2 separate regions of the Homo sapiens genome follow, and region 1 is linked to region 2. The links are contacts of gene promoters, found by promoter capture Hi-C in blood cells and fetal thymus (Javierre and others, 2016). All regions are on one chromosome and are shown on one strand. The core of a region is centred on a gene start or on the middle of the fragment in contact, and the rest is flanking DNA. Distances in the headings are between cores, read along the strand shown.

Region 1 (6,123 bases), core at 3,624-6,123, 420 kb after region 2:
GACTCTTCTGGGTACTGGTGGTGCTGTGGTGAGAAACTGACAAGCTGCTGCTCTCCTGCACATATATTCCAGCAGGGGAGTGTGTGGTTTCTTCTGACACCAAATACATAATTTTTTTCCATATCAGTTCTGCAGTTCTCAGATACCAGCTGAGTGTCCCAACAATTTAATTCAGTTGTGACACTAACTCCCGGAGTTAGCACAGACCCCACAAGTTAAGGACTAGGTCCCCTGCTTCAGATGGCAGCTTCAGGCTATCCACACTTACGCCCGGCTAACTACAAATTCAGGGGTTCTGGGGTTTGATAATTTGCCAGAAGGACTCCCAGAACCCAGGAAAGTGCTGTGTTTACAATTAACGGTTTATGATAAAGGATGAAACTCAGTCACAGCCAGTGGAAGAGGTGCACAGGGTAAGGTATGGGGGAGAGGCACAGAGCTTCCATGCCCTCTCCACACATTGATGTGTTCAGCAACCCAGAGCTTTCCAAACCCCATCATGTAGGGGTTTTTATGGAGGTTTCATTACATAGACATGACTGATGAAATCTGTGGCAGTTGGTGATAGACTCAATTTCTGGTCTCCCTTCTCTCCTCTGAGTGGCTGAAAGCACCAACCATGTGGTCAAGTGCTTTGTCTTTCTGGTGACCAGCGCATCCCCCATCCTGAAGCTATCTAGGGGTCTACCATGAGTCACCACATTAGCATAAACTCAGGTGTGGTGGAAAGGGGCTTGTAATCAATAAAAAAGATACCCATCGCTTGGGAAATTCCAAGGGTCTTAGGAGCTCTGTGCCAGGAAGTGTGACATTTATATCACAGGGAGACAGTAGGCAGATAAACATATAATGTCAGGAAGTCTTGCGTGCTGTGAGGAAAACTAAACCAGGCTAAGGGGTTTGGGGGAGATGAGGAGTACTTTGGGGTGGTCGGGGAAGGCCTCTGAGGCAGTGGCACTTCAGCAGAGCCCTTAATATGAGACAGGAGCCATGCTAGTATCTAGGGAGAATGTTCCAGGCAAGGGGAACAGCACATCCAGAGCAGCTGGGGCAGGAGTATGCTCTGTGTGTCCTGATGCTGAAAGGAGGTCACTGTGGCTGGAATGTCGTGGGCCAGGAGAGGGTGTCATGGTGGGAAGCCATTGGAGGTTTTGAGTTAGCAGCTGGATTCTAGGGTCATTCTGGATGTCCGTATCACTGCTGTCTTGGGACCCTGTGTGGAAACACTGGCATTGTCTTCAGCCCTTCCTCCGTATGTAGTCAGTAAGTGTAGATAAGTAGTTCAGATAATTCTTAAGAACTATTGTAACCATAATAGATTTGTTGCCCAATGCACACAGCAAGTCAATATGCTGAGACACCACCAGGTTGCAGCAGAGAAAGAAGTTTAACCGTAGGGTCACCAAAGGAGGAGATGGGAGGAATCCTGAAATCATTTCCACGAGGAGTTTGGGGTTAGGGTTTTAAGGGTTTTGGAGTGGGCTGGAGTGAGGGTCATTGGTTGGGTGAAGAGTGCAGGGTGAAGTCACGGACAGGGAGATGAAGAAGCTGTGTTCTCATGCAGATCCCGTTTCTCTGGGGATCTTCAAACTGGTTGCTGGAATTAGGGATCTGAAAAGACATTTTAAGCAATCCTTAAACAAAAACCTTATGATTCTAATGTCAGAGATCTTGCCTATAGGAACAATGGGGGTGCATATCAATTCTTACATAGTCTTATGACCCAAATGTCAGAAATCCTATCTATAGGGACAGTGGGGATGCAAATGGTCAGTACCTAGTGTTCAGGAACTTTTAGCAACAAGGATATGGGCCAAAGTGCCCCCTAATTAGTGCTTAATTATAATTGTATTTCTGTCCAGAACTTGGCAGATACTTCTTGTCAACCCTTTGGAGGCAGTTTCACTCTCATATGCCTTACTCTGTGATTCTGTTTTTCTTTTTTGGTTAAGAGCAGAAACCCCTTCAGAAACTGAAAGCCAAAAATTGCCCTTCCTAGAAAAATGTATGTATAAATTTTGTGTGTGGTTTCCTGAATTTTATAGTTCTGTACTTATTTAGTGATTTGCCCGGCCACTCTTGACTTTAGAACATCACTTTTAAGTTCTCTGAGTTTTTGTTGCAAGGATAAAATGATATTATACATGTGAAACACCAGTAGAAAGCTTGGCACATACTTATCTTTGCGGTTACCTAAAACAGGCCAGTCATTTCAGGGTCCCCAGACTTAGTTCTCTAATGAACTCTCTTCAATCACAGAATTCCCCCTCCTTACCTTATACTCTTGCTTCAGGATGCCTCCTATCTTAGTCTGTTTTGTGATGATGCAACAGAATACTACAGATTGGGTAATTATAATGAACAGAAATTGTTTTGGCTCATGTTTCTGGAGGCTGGGAAGTCCAGTATCAAGGCACCAGCATCTGACAAGGGTCATCCCATCGTGGAAAGTGGGAGGACAAGAGCAAGCAAGAGAGGGTCAAACTTGCTTTTATAACAAACTCACTCTTTTTTTTTTTTTTTTTGAGACGGAGTCTTGCTCTGTTGCCCAGGCTGGAGTGCAGTGGCACGATCTCGGCTCATTGCAACCTCTGCTTCCTGGGTTCAAGTGATTCTCCTGCCTCAGCCTCCTGAGTAGCTGGGACTACAGGCATATGCCACCAGGCCCAGCTAATTTTTGTATTTTTAGTAGAGATGGGGTTTCACCATGTTGGCCAAGCTGGTCTTGAACTCCTGACCTTGTGATCTGCCCACCTTGGCCTCCCAAAGTGCTGGGATTACAGACGTGAGCCACCACATCCGGCCAACAGACTCACTCTTAAAAACGAACCCATCCCCGAGATCCATTAGTCCATTCATGGGGATGGAGCCCTCATGATCTAATTACCTCTTATTAGGCCTTACCTACCAACACTTGCTGCATTGGGGATTAAGTTTCTGTATCAGTCCATTTTCATACTGCTATGAAGAAATACATGAGACTGGTTAGTTTATAAAGAAAAAGAGGTTTAATGGACTCACAGTTCCACATGGCTGGGGAGGTTTCACAATCATGGCGGAAGGTGAAGGAGGAACAAAGGCATGTCTTACATGGCATCAGGCAAGAGTGTGTGTCCAGGGAAACTGCCCTTTATAAAACCATCAGCTCTCGTGAGACTTAATTCATCATAGGAGCGGCATGGGAAAGACCTGCCCCCATAATTCAATTACCTCCCACCCGGTCCTTCCCACAACACATGGGGATTATGGGAGCTACAAATCAAGATGAGATTTGGACACAGCCAAACCATACCAGTTTCCAACATATGAATTTTGGGGGACACATTTAAATCAGAGGACCTCCTCAAATGCCTCTCTTAGTACTGTTCTCATCTGTAACATCCAGCCTGGCCTTCATTTTTATGTAGTTGTGTGTGCTGATTTTGCATGTGCTTATATCAGCAGCCCCCTAGGGAAGGTCTAGGGAGCCTTGCTTTTCTATGATAAATCATTGGTTGGTTTTAATGGTTTAAATAGTCTTAGTTGGTTCATCCTGTGGAACTACACATGTATTCCTTTGATCCTAGTACTGATCTCTGGGCTTAATGTACATTGGTTTAAAAATACATTAATGAAATGACTCAAATTTGGGTGTTTTCAATACCTTCCCTTAGTCCTGAGAAGAGGACTGTTTAAGAGCAAGATATGAGTTCAGAAATTCCATTTTTCATTTTCTGATTCTATTTATTTCCCCCATTTCCACCCCTTAATAGCTTCTACCCTCCTCATCTTTGGAAGTTGTCCCAGAAGCAGCCCAGAACAATCCAGGGGAGGAAGTCACAGAAACTGCAGGTGAAGGGTCAGAATCCATCATTAAGGAAGAAACAGAAGAGAACAGTCACTGTGATGCTAACACAGAGATGCAGCAGATTCTCACACGAGTTCGGCAGAACTTTGGTAAAATCAACGTGGTGCCTCAGTTTTCTGGGGATGACCTGGTTCCTGTGGAGGTGTCAGATCTTGAGGAAGAGCTTGAGAGCTTTTCTGATGAAGAGGAGGAGGAACAGGAGCAACAAAGAGATGATGCGGAAGAGTCTTCCTCGGAGCCTGAGGAGGAAAATGTGGGAAACGACACCAAAGCCGTTATTAAAGCACTGGATGAGAAGATTGCCAAATATCAGAAGTTTCTAGACAAAGCCAAAGCCAAAAAGTTTTCAGCAGTCAGGTAATATTTTCATCTTCTCACAAATTGCAGATTTTCATTCCTTTCCCAAAAATTTGCCATGAGTACCAGAGCCATATTTTTACATGGGGTTATTGCCATTTGTTTGTTCGGTTGGGTTTTTTGTTTGTTTGTTTTTTGAGACGGCGTCTCGCTATGTTGCCTAGACTGGCCTCACTCTCCTGGGTTCAAGCAATGCTGTCATCTCAGCCTCCTAAGTAGCTGTGACTACAGGTGTGCACCACCACACTTGGCTGTTATTGCCATTTTTAAAAAGTGAACTGTAAATTTTGTAAAATTCAGCTGCCTGCAGTATGAGAAGCTTTAGAAACACCCAGGGAGGTACAAACATGTTGGATGTTGACTTCTTCCACTGGTGATAACTACTTGGATAGGAGTGGGGTTTCTTTAGTCTGTGAGTTTGTCGCAGGTCTCCAGGTCAGTATGTGATTCGGGCGAGTGAGAGGAGGAATGTTACTTTGCTTTTCTGTTTCAGAATATCCAAGGGACTGAGTGAAAAGATATTTGCAAAACCTGAAGAACAAAGAAAAACACTGGAAGAAGATGTAGATGACAGAGGTGAAGTTAAATTATTTCAATCATTTAGATGTAATTTGCATATTTAGAGTTTTGAGAAACCTAAGTTCAGTCTCCAAATTATCTCAGTCATCCACATAAATGTTTGTCATATCTGGCAGATTACTTTAAATTTACATAGTGTTATGCAAATTGAATTATCTGCTTTTCATTCTGCACATTTTTTAGGATTAAATTGGCAATTCAGGAAACTTCCTAGAAAGGGTTCATTATTAACCTAGAATCCAAGGGTGGGTCCACAGACAAAGAGGGGGGTGTGTTTCCTGCATTTATCCATTCCTCCATTTGACCATCAGCTTTCACACTGAGAGCATGGCTTAGGGCATCCTTTTACCTGGCAGCCTCCCCTTGGCCTGCTTTACTCACCACTGTGCTCACCTGCTCTGTCCACATTGGGTGTCCTCCTCCTGATACATCAAGCTTGTTCCCACCGTTGGGTTTATAGACAAATTTTCAATAGAAAATTCCTGTTTGTGTATTGTTTGTATCCAGCACCTTCCAAAAAGGGAAAGAAGCGGAAGGCACAAAGGGAAGAGGAACAGGAACATTCAAATAAAGCTCCCAGGGCGCTTACATCAAAAGAAGTAAGTGTCATAGGTTTTAAGTATGGCCCAAGTAGAGTAACTAGAACTCCAGTTGTCAAGACCCACTGAAACAAATGGTCCAGAGCTGAATCCCAAGAACCCCAGTCCTCGTTGACCTAGTTGAGGTCAGATAAATAGGGTCGGGTCTGGCCCACTAGATGCAGGTCCTTGAGTCCATGTCATACGTTTTAGGAGTTTCTAATCAACGTCTCCACACGAGTGGACTATCCTCTAGAGGAGTCAGTTTCTAGTCCCAAGGGAAACGACCCAATGAGCAGATCTGCTTTGGGCAGATCACTGACTTCTGTGAAGGACAGCTTTGGAGCTGAGCTGTTCAGAGCTAGAGTGGGCCCTCTGGGGAGGGGAGTGGTTAGCAGCACTCAGCCTTGCTGCAGGGGACTTGTCAGGAGTGATGCAGAACAGATTCTTGCACTGGCTAAGGGTTGGATCACATGTGGATTTGTAACTTGGAGTTGCATAAGTCACAATGGAAGAGTAACCTTAGGTCTACGGGGGAGCCCTCCCTCATTAGCACTGCTTCCAGTAGCTGTGGAAGCAGCACGGGAAATAGAACACAGAGATGAGAAGCAGAGACTCCTGTTTTGTGAATGACTTTCAGGGTTTTGTTGTTTTTTTTCTTCATCTTTTCTTGCCATTTTTTACAGCGGAGGCGAGCAGTACGACAGCAACGGCCGAAAAAAGTTGGTGTGCGCTACTATGAAACACACAACGTGAAAAATA
Region 2 (6,269 bases), core at 256-2,755:
CAGGGGCCATGCTAATCTTCTCTGTATGGTTCCAATTTTAGTATATGTGCTGCCATAGCAAGCACCAGTGTTTTTCTTTTAACACCGTTCTGGACGTTTTATCTGGACATACACTGTTGTTTTTCTGTCTAGCTTCTTTCACTTAGCATGATGCTTTCATGGTTCATCATTGTAGTATTCATTTATTGCAGAATAATGTTCCATTGTACTGTATAGATATACCACACTTTATCCATTTGCCAGTTAATGGACTCTTGGGCTGCATCCAGTTTTTGTCTATTATGAATAATGCCGCTGTGAACATATGAACACATGGACATGTTTGCATTTCTCTACCTACAAGTGGAGATATATAGACAGAATTTTTTTTAAGGCTGTATGTCATTTCACAGCTGGTCTTCCACTGCTTGGATGCACAGTATTTTATTTTATTTTATTTTACTTTTTTTTGAGACGGAGTCTCTCTCTGTCGCCCAAGCTGGAATGCAGTGGCATGATCTCAGCTCACTGCAACCTCTGCCTCCTGGGTTCAAGTGATTCTCCTGCCTCAGCCTCCCGAGTAGCTGTGACTACAGGCGCGCGCCACCATGCCCGGCTAATTTTTTGCAGTTTTAGTAGAGACGGGGTTTCACCGTGTTAGACAGGATGGTCTCAATCTCCTGATCTCGTTGGATGCACAGTATTTTATTTAACATATTCGCTGCCGATAGACAAGTCGTTTCTACACGTGAATTTCTTTTTTTTTTTTTTTTTTGAGACTGAGTCTCATTCTGTCGCCCAGGCTGGAGTGCAGTGGCACGATCTCAGCTGACGGCAACCTCTGCTTCCCGGGTTCAAGCGATTCTCCTGCCTCAGCCTCCGGAGTAGCTGGGACTACAGGCGCCTGCCATCACGCCCGGCTAATTTTTGTTTGTTTGTTTTTAGTAGAGACGGGGTTTCACCATGTTAGCCAGCCTGGTCGTCTCGAACCTCTGACCTCAAGTGATCCGCCCGCCTCGGCCTCCCAAAGTGTTGGGATTACAGGCGTGAGCTACCGCGCCCGGCCTCACATGTGAATTTTTTTAAAAACACCACCAGCAAAACCCCACTATTCCCATTTTCCTGAGAAAGACGCTGAGGTCCAGAGAAAGAGAAAACGTTCTCATAATTTATGCTGAAAGCTGCGTCCTCAAGTTCCGGTTTCCCAACTCCCATCCGCACTCCAACTGCTCGCGCAGTCCACACAGGATACCTGCCCGCCAAGCCGGCCCCAGCAAGCCGCAGGAAGCCGTCCGCTGAACCTCAGGTTCTTGGGTTTTCCTATGCCCCCTGGAGGCATCTGCGAACCTCTCGGCATCGCTCCACCACACCTCCCACCAGCAGGTGGCACTGTTGCCATCTCCATAACATGGACTGGCCTTCCTTGTGGTGCTCCTGTTTTCTTAAGTCCCGGGGCACTTCCGGCACTCGCGGAACTTTGGTGCAGCCTGATGCGCAACGTGGGGACTCAGGCGCGCTGGGCGGCAGGAGTTGCTTCCGGCCGTGTTGGTGGTCTGAATTGAGAAGCCGCGACTAAGGGAAGATGGAGACAATACTGGAGCAGCAGCGGCGCTATCATGAGGAGAAGGAACGGCTCATGGACGTCATGGCTAAAGAGATGCTCACCAAGAAGTCCACGGTGAGTGGGGCCTGAGCAGAGGCTGCGGCAGGAGCACGAGCCTCTATCCCGTGTTTGACCTCTGAGAGCTTGCTTTGGCCCTCAGAACCTCCCTGCCTTCCTCCGGGCTCCCTCTCCGAGCTCCGGTCTTGGTAACCTCCTCCCGGGGTCCGGAGCCCCAGAGGCCTTTCTGCCTCAGCTGGTAAAAGCTGAGCGGGTAAGCTCCGCCCTCGGGCGGCCTTTTCTACTCCAGAACGCAAACTAACGGCGTTTGTGTCACCGTTTGTTTTTTCAGCTCCGGGACCAGATCAATTCTGATCACCGCACTCGGGCCATGCAAGATGTGAGTGCCCAGCTGTCTGCCTCTCTTTGGGTTGGCGAGGGCGGGAAAAGAGAGGGGAAGTGAAGTGCGGTGTCTCAGCATGAGTCCCTGGCCAAAGGTAACCGGATTGGCCAGTCGCGGGCTCTCTGCCTGGACAGATGTCCACAGGCTGCCGAACGTGAGGGTGCTTCCTCAGTTCTCTGAATGGGGAACTCTTGGGCATTCTTCATTAATCAGAAAGGTGCCCTTTTTTTTTTTCTTCTTCTTCTTCTTTTGGACGGAGTCTCGCTCTGTTGCCTAGGCTGGAGTGCAGTGGCGCGGTCTCGGCTCACTGCAACCTCCGCCTCCTGGGTTCAAGCGATTCTCCTGCCTCAGCCTCCGGAGTAGTTGGGACTACAGGCGCTCGCCACCACGCTCAGCTAATTTTTGTATTTTTAGTAGAGACGGAGTTTCTACTAAACATGTTGGTCAGGCTGGTCTCGAACTCCTGACCTCGTGATCCACCTACCTCGGCCTCCCAAAGTGCTGAGATTACAGGCTTGAGCCACCGCGGCCGGCTTACACGTGCCCATTCTTACAGCATCCTGTATCCCTTGGATGTGCAAACAATAGTTATGAAGAGTCCATGACTCAGGTGCATAGCTACAATCCTTCCCTTAAATGAAAAAAAAAATATATATATATATATACACACACACACACACACACACAACACACCCCGTATGTTAGTGTTTTTCTCCCAGGATACTACTTTAAAGCGTTTTGGACTACTAAACTGCATTTGTCTGGTAATAGTTCAGTTTATTAAAAGAAAAACAAGATGCTATTTAAACTGGGTGATGAATAAATGGAGGTTCATTTTACTACGTTCCTTACTCTTGTGTATGTTTGAAACCTGTTTAAAAAGGAATAAAAGACCTACTTGGACCTTCTGATTTGCAGGAGATTATCAGATTACAAGCCCTCAGCCCCAAAATACTCTGAAAACCAAGGATTTTCTTTTTTTCCCCTTGGGTGATTATTTGGTGTCAAAATCTGACCTGATCTCACTTGACAGTAAAACCTGGCCCGAACCTGTGATAGGCTTTTTATGGTCTTTAATTTATCCCACTTGGTAAATAAGGTATGAGGTTTACTGCAGAACTGTGTGCTCCAGATTCCACTAGGGATGTTACATAATATATGATACCTCTTTTGAACTTAAACATTCCAAATTCTGAAACAAATCTGGTCCCAAAAGTTTTGGAGGAGGGACTATGTACCTGTACCATCCTGAATTAGTATACTTTGACTACAAAGGAAGCCTATGTAATGTTTATTTAGCCTGCCTACTCCTCAGTCAAGCGTTTTGAAATAGTGAATATCATCTTTATCTTTGAGGATGTTAGGTGGGAACTAGTGTTTGGCCAAAGAGGGTGAGTCTGTTACAGGGGAAGTTAGGCATCGGTGGTATGTAAAGATAGGAGCCACCCCTTAAATGTATCATTTAGGTAATCTTCCAATCGACCTGCTTAAAAAACTAAACAGGAATCAAGGCTGTTAAAGGGCTATTAAAAAACTAACCAGGAATCAGGGCTGTTAAAGGTACTAGGAAGCACAGAACTGTTAAGACTATCTCATATCCATGTCTCTTGAGGTTGCCCTGGGCTTTGACTGGAGAACCCTTGTTGTTTGCTTAGCTCTACAGTTGTGCAAATTGCATCATTCTGATGGTTTTGTATTTGCCTTTCAGAGGTATATGGAGGTCAGTGGGAACCTGAGGGATTTGTATGATGATAAGGATGGGTAAGTGACAGTCACAGCTAATCCAGGAGTTAGTGCTTCTGAGGAGCCATGGTTAGAGGACTGACTTTGTGCTCTATCTTCTTTGAAATTTTCCTGAAATTGCAGATTACGAAAGGAGGAGCTCAATGCCATTTCAGGACCCAATGAGTTTGCTGAATTCTATAATAGACTCAAGCAAATAAAGGAATTCCACCGGAAGCACCCAAATGAGGTATGTCCTCAGAAAAGTATTTTCTCCAGACCTATCCTTAAAGCATACTAAAGGAAAGGTATAAAGGAAACTGGACATGTGCTATTCAAATGCACTTCAAGAAAGAACTTGCCATTTAGCTGCAAGGACCATAGTTAGCTGACATCCTACAATACAGTGTTTTCAGTATCTCCCTCAGCTTTTAAGCCAAGGCCGGCTGGGCACGGTGGCTCACGCCTGTAATCCCAGCACTTTGGGAGGCTGAGGTGGGTGGATCACCTGAGGTCAGGAGTTCAAGACCAGCCTGGCCAACATAGTGAAACTCAACCTCTACTAAAAATACAAAAATTAGCCAGGCATGGTGGCATGTGCCTGTAATCCCAACTACTCAGGAGGCTGAGGCAAGAGAATCACTTGAACCTGGGAGGTGGAGGTTGCAGTGAGCCGAGATTGCGCCATTGCACTCCATCCTGGGGGACAAGAGTGAGACTTTGTCTCAAAAAAAAGAAGTCAAGGCCACATTTTGTGGGCAGCTCCCAGCCAGTGACTGAGCACAGTATGGGTACTAGGGCCCAGCAATTTGGTCCACTCTGAGACTCCTCTGATGAATAATCTTTGCTCCATGGCTCCCCGTTGGGTTGGTCAAGATTTTGTCCAATCTGCATTGTGGTCTAGGCTATCCTGTCCTAATCCTACTTTCTCTTCCTTTTTATCTTTCACAGAAATTACTCTCCCCAATAAATTGTGTTCCTAACTCTGTCTTTTTTTTTTTTTTTTTTTTTGAGATGGAGTCTCGCTCTGTTGCCCAGGCTGGAGTGCAGTGGCATGATCTCGGCTCACTGCAAGCTCCACCTCCCGAGTTCATGCCATTCTCCTTCCTCAGCCTCCTGAGTAGCTGGGACTACAGGTGCCTGCCACCACGCCTGGCTAATTTTATGTATTTTTTAGTTGAGACAGGGTTTCACCATGTTAGCCAGGATAGTCTCTATCTCCTGACCTTGTGATCCGCCCACCTCGGCCTCCCAAAGTGCTGGGATTACAGGCATGAGCCACCGCGCCCGGCCCTCATATGCCCTGGAGCTCACTTATAATAAGGTAAAGAGAAAAAGGGCCTGGGAAGGCTTCCATCAGAAAGGTCACATGACCACTCCAGGTGGTGTTGCCTTACTGAAGTTAAGCAAAAGAGAGTTTCAGAAAGGCAGTCATGGTGTCAACTGTTATTGATTTATATCTGCCAGGATTGCTGCTTCATTAAAGTAGTATGAATGGAAATCTGGTCACAAGGTAAAGATGGGTAATGGGGAAGTAGAAGTATGGAGTATGGAACATGCATTTGAAAGGCTGGTAGCCAGGTGCAGTGACTCACGCCTGTAATCCCAGCACTTTGGGAGGCCGAGGCGGGTCGATCATCTGAGGTCAGGAGTTGGAGACCAGCCTGGCCAAAATGGTGAAACCTCTCTCTACTAAAAACACAAAAATTAGCCGGGCATGGTGGTGCACGCCTGTGATCCCAGCTTCTCATGAGGCTGAGACAGGAGAATCGCTTGAACCCAGGACATGGAGGTTGCAGTGAGCTGAGATCACGCCACTGCACTCCAGCCTGGGCAACAGAGCAAGACTCCGTCAAAAAAAAAAAAAAAAAAAGTCTGGTAGGAAAAAGAAGGGGAGAAACAGGAGGGTATTGGGGAAGACAGAGAAGCATACTTATTTGAAGGAGCACAGGGAAAAAGGAAGAGACTAAAAACAGCAAAAAATAGAGGCTGTTTATTGCAATACATAGCGCGGAGGTAAATGAAGGGACCCTCACACACATAGCCCCCTTGGAGGATAGAGAATGAGGTCTTCTGCTAACCAAGGGAGAATAAATGAATACCATTCTGATGTGTTAACCTTATTCCAGCCATGGTCAAAAGGTAATGAGGAATAAATGCTTAAATAACTGATTAGAAGGATGCCCAAGATATACTAAATGTCAGACGCAAGTCTTTTATGTTAAAAAAACAAAAACAAAAACCTATGCAGGCATGAATGTACTTGTACAAATACATATATTTAAATACATAGAGCACTGTTTTCCAAACTTTGTGCATATTTGAGCCACCTGGGGATCTTTAAAAAGTACTGATACCTGCCCTCCTTTGATTTAATTGGTATCAGGTGCATCAGGATTTAAAAAAAAAACTCCCCCAGGTGATTCTAATGTGCAGCAAAGTTTGGGAACCACTGGCATAGCAAAAGCTCTGTTAACAGTGGTCACCTGTTCTCAGGAGAATTAATAAAGGTGGACTTTTGAGTTTTTGTGAGCATGTGTTACTTTAGTGGGTTTTACTCAAACA

The links. Contacts are between HindIII fragments. The CHiCAGO score rates a contact against its expected background, and 5 or more counts as called.
Region 1: a fragment that was not itself captured here is called in contact with the fragment with the promoter of SF3A3 in region 2 in 1 of 17 cell types (M2 macrophages); the score reaches 5.4 in M2 macrophages.

The regions. Positions count from the first base shown.
Region 1 is chr1:37,566,932-37,573,054 of GRCh38, reverse strand. GNL2 (G protein nucleolar 2) reads left to right here. Exons shown (of 16, transcript NM_013285.3): 13 at 3,753-4,204; 14 at 4,698-4,780; 15 at 5,291-5,382; 16 at 6,048-6,123. Among named protein-coding and RNA genes, the nearest start is that of DNALI1, 13 kb to the right of the region's middle. RefSeq lists an enhancer at 3,641-4,840. The HindIII fragment of the contact is 695 bases long and covers 4,526-5,220 here.
Region 2 is chr1:37,985,258-37,991,526 of GRCh38, reverse strand. SF3A3 (splicing factor 3a subunit 3) reads left to right here and starts at 1,505. Exons shown (of 17, transcript NM_006802.4): 1 at 1,505-1,657; 2 at 1,932-1,979; 3 at 3,691-3,743; 4 at 3,849-3,954. The coding sequence starts at 1,562. It also overlaps the pseudogene RNU6-510P. RefSeq lists enhancers at 347-892, 1,284-1,453, 2,154-2,253. The HindIII fragment of the contact is 15,870 bases long and covers 1-6,269 here.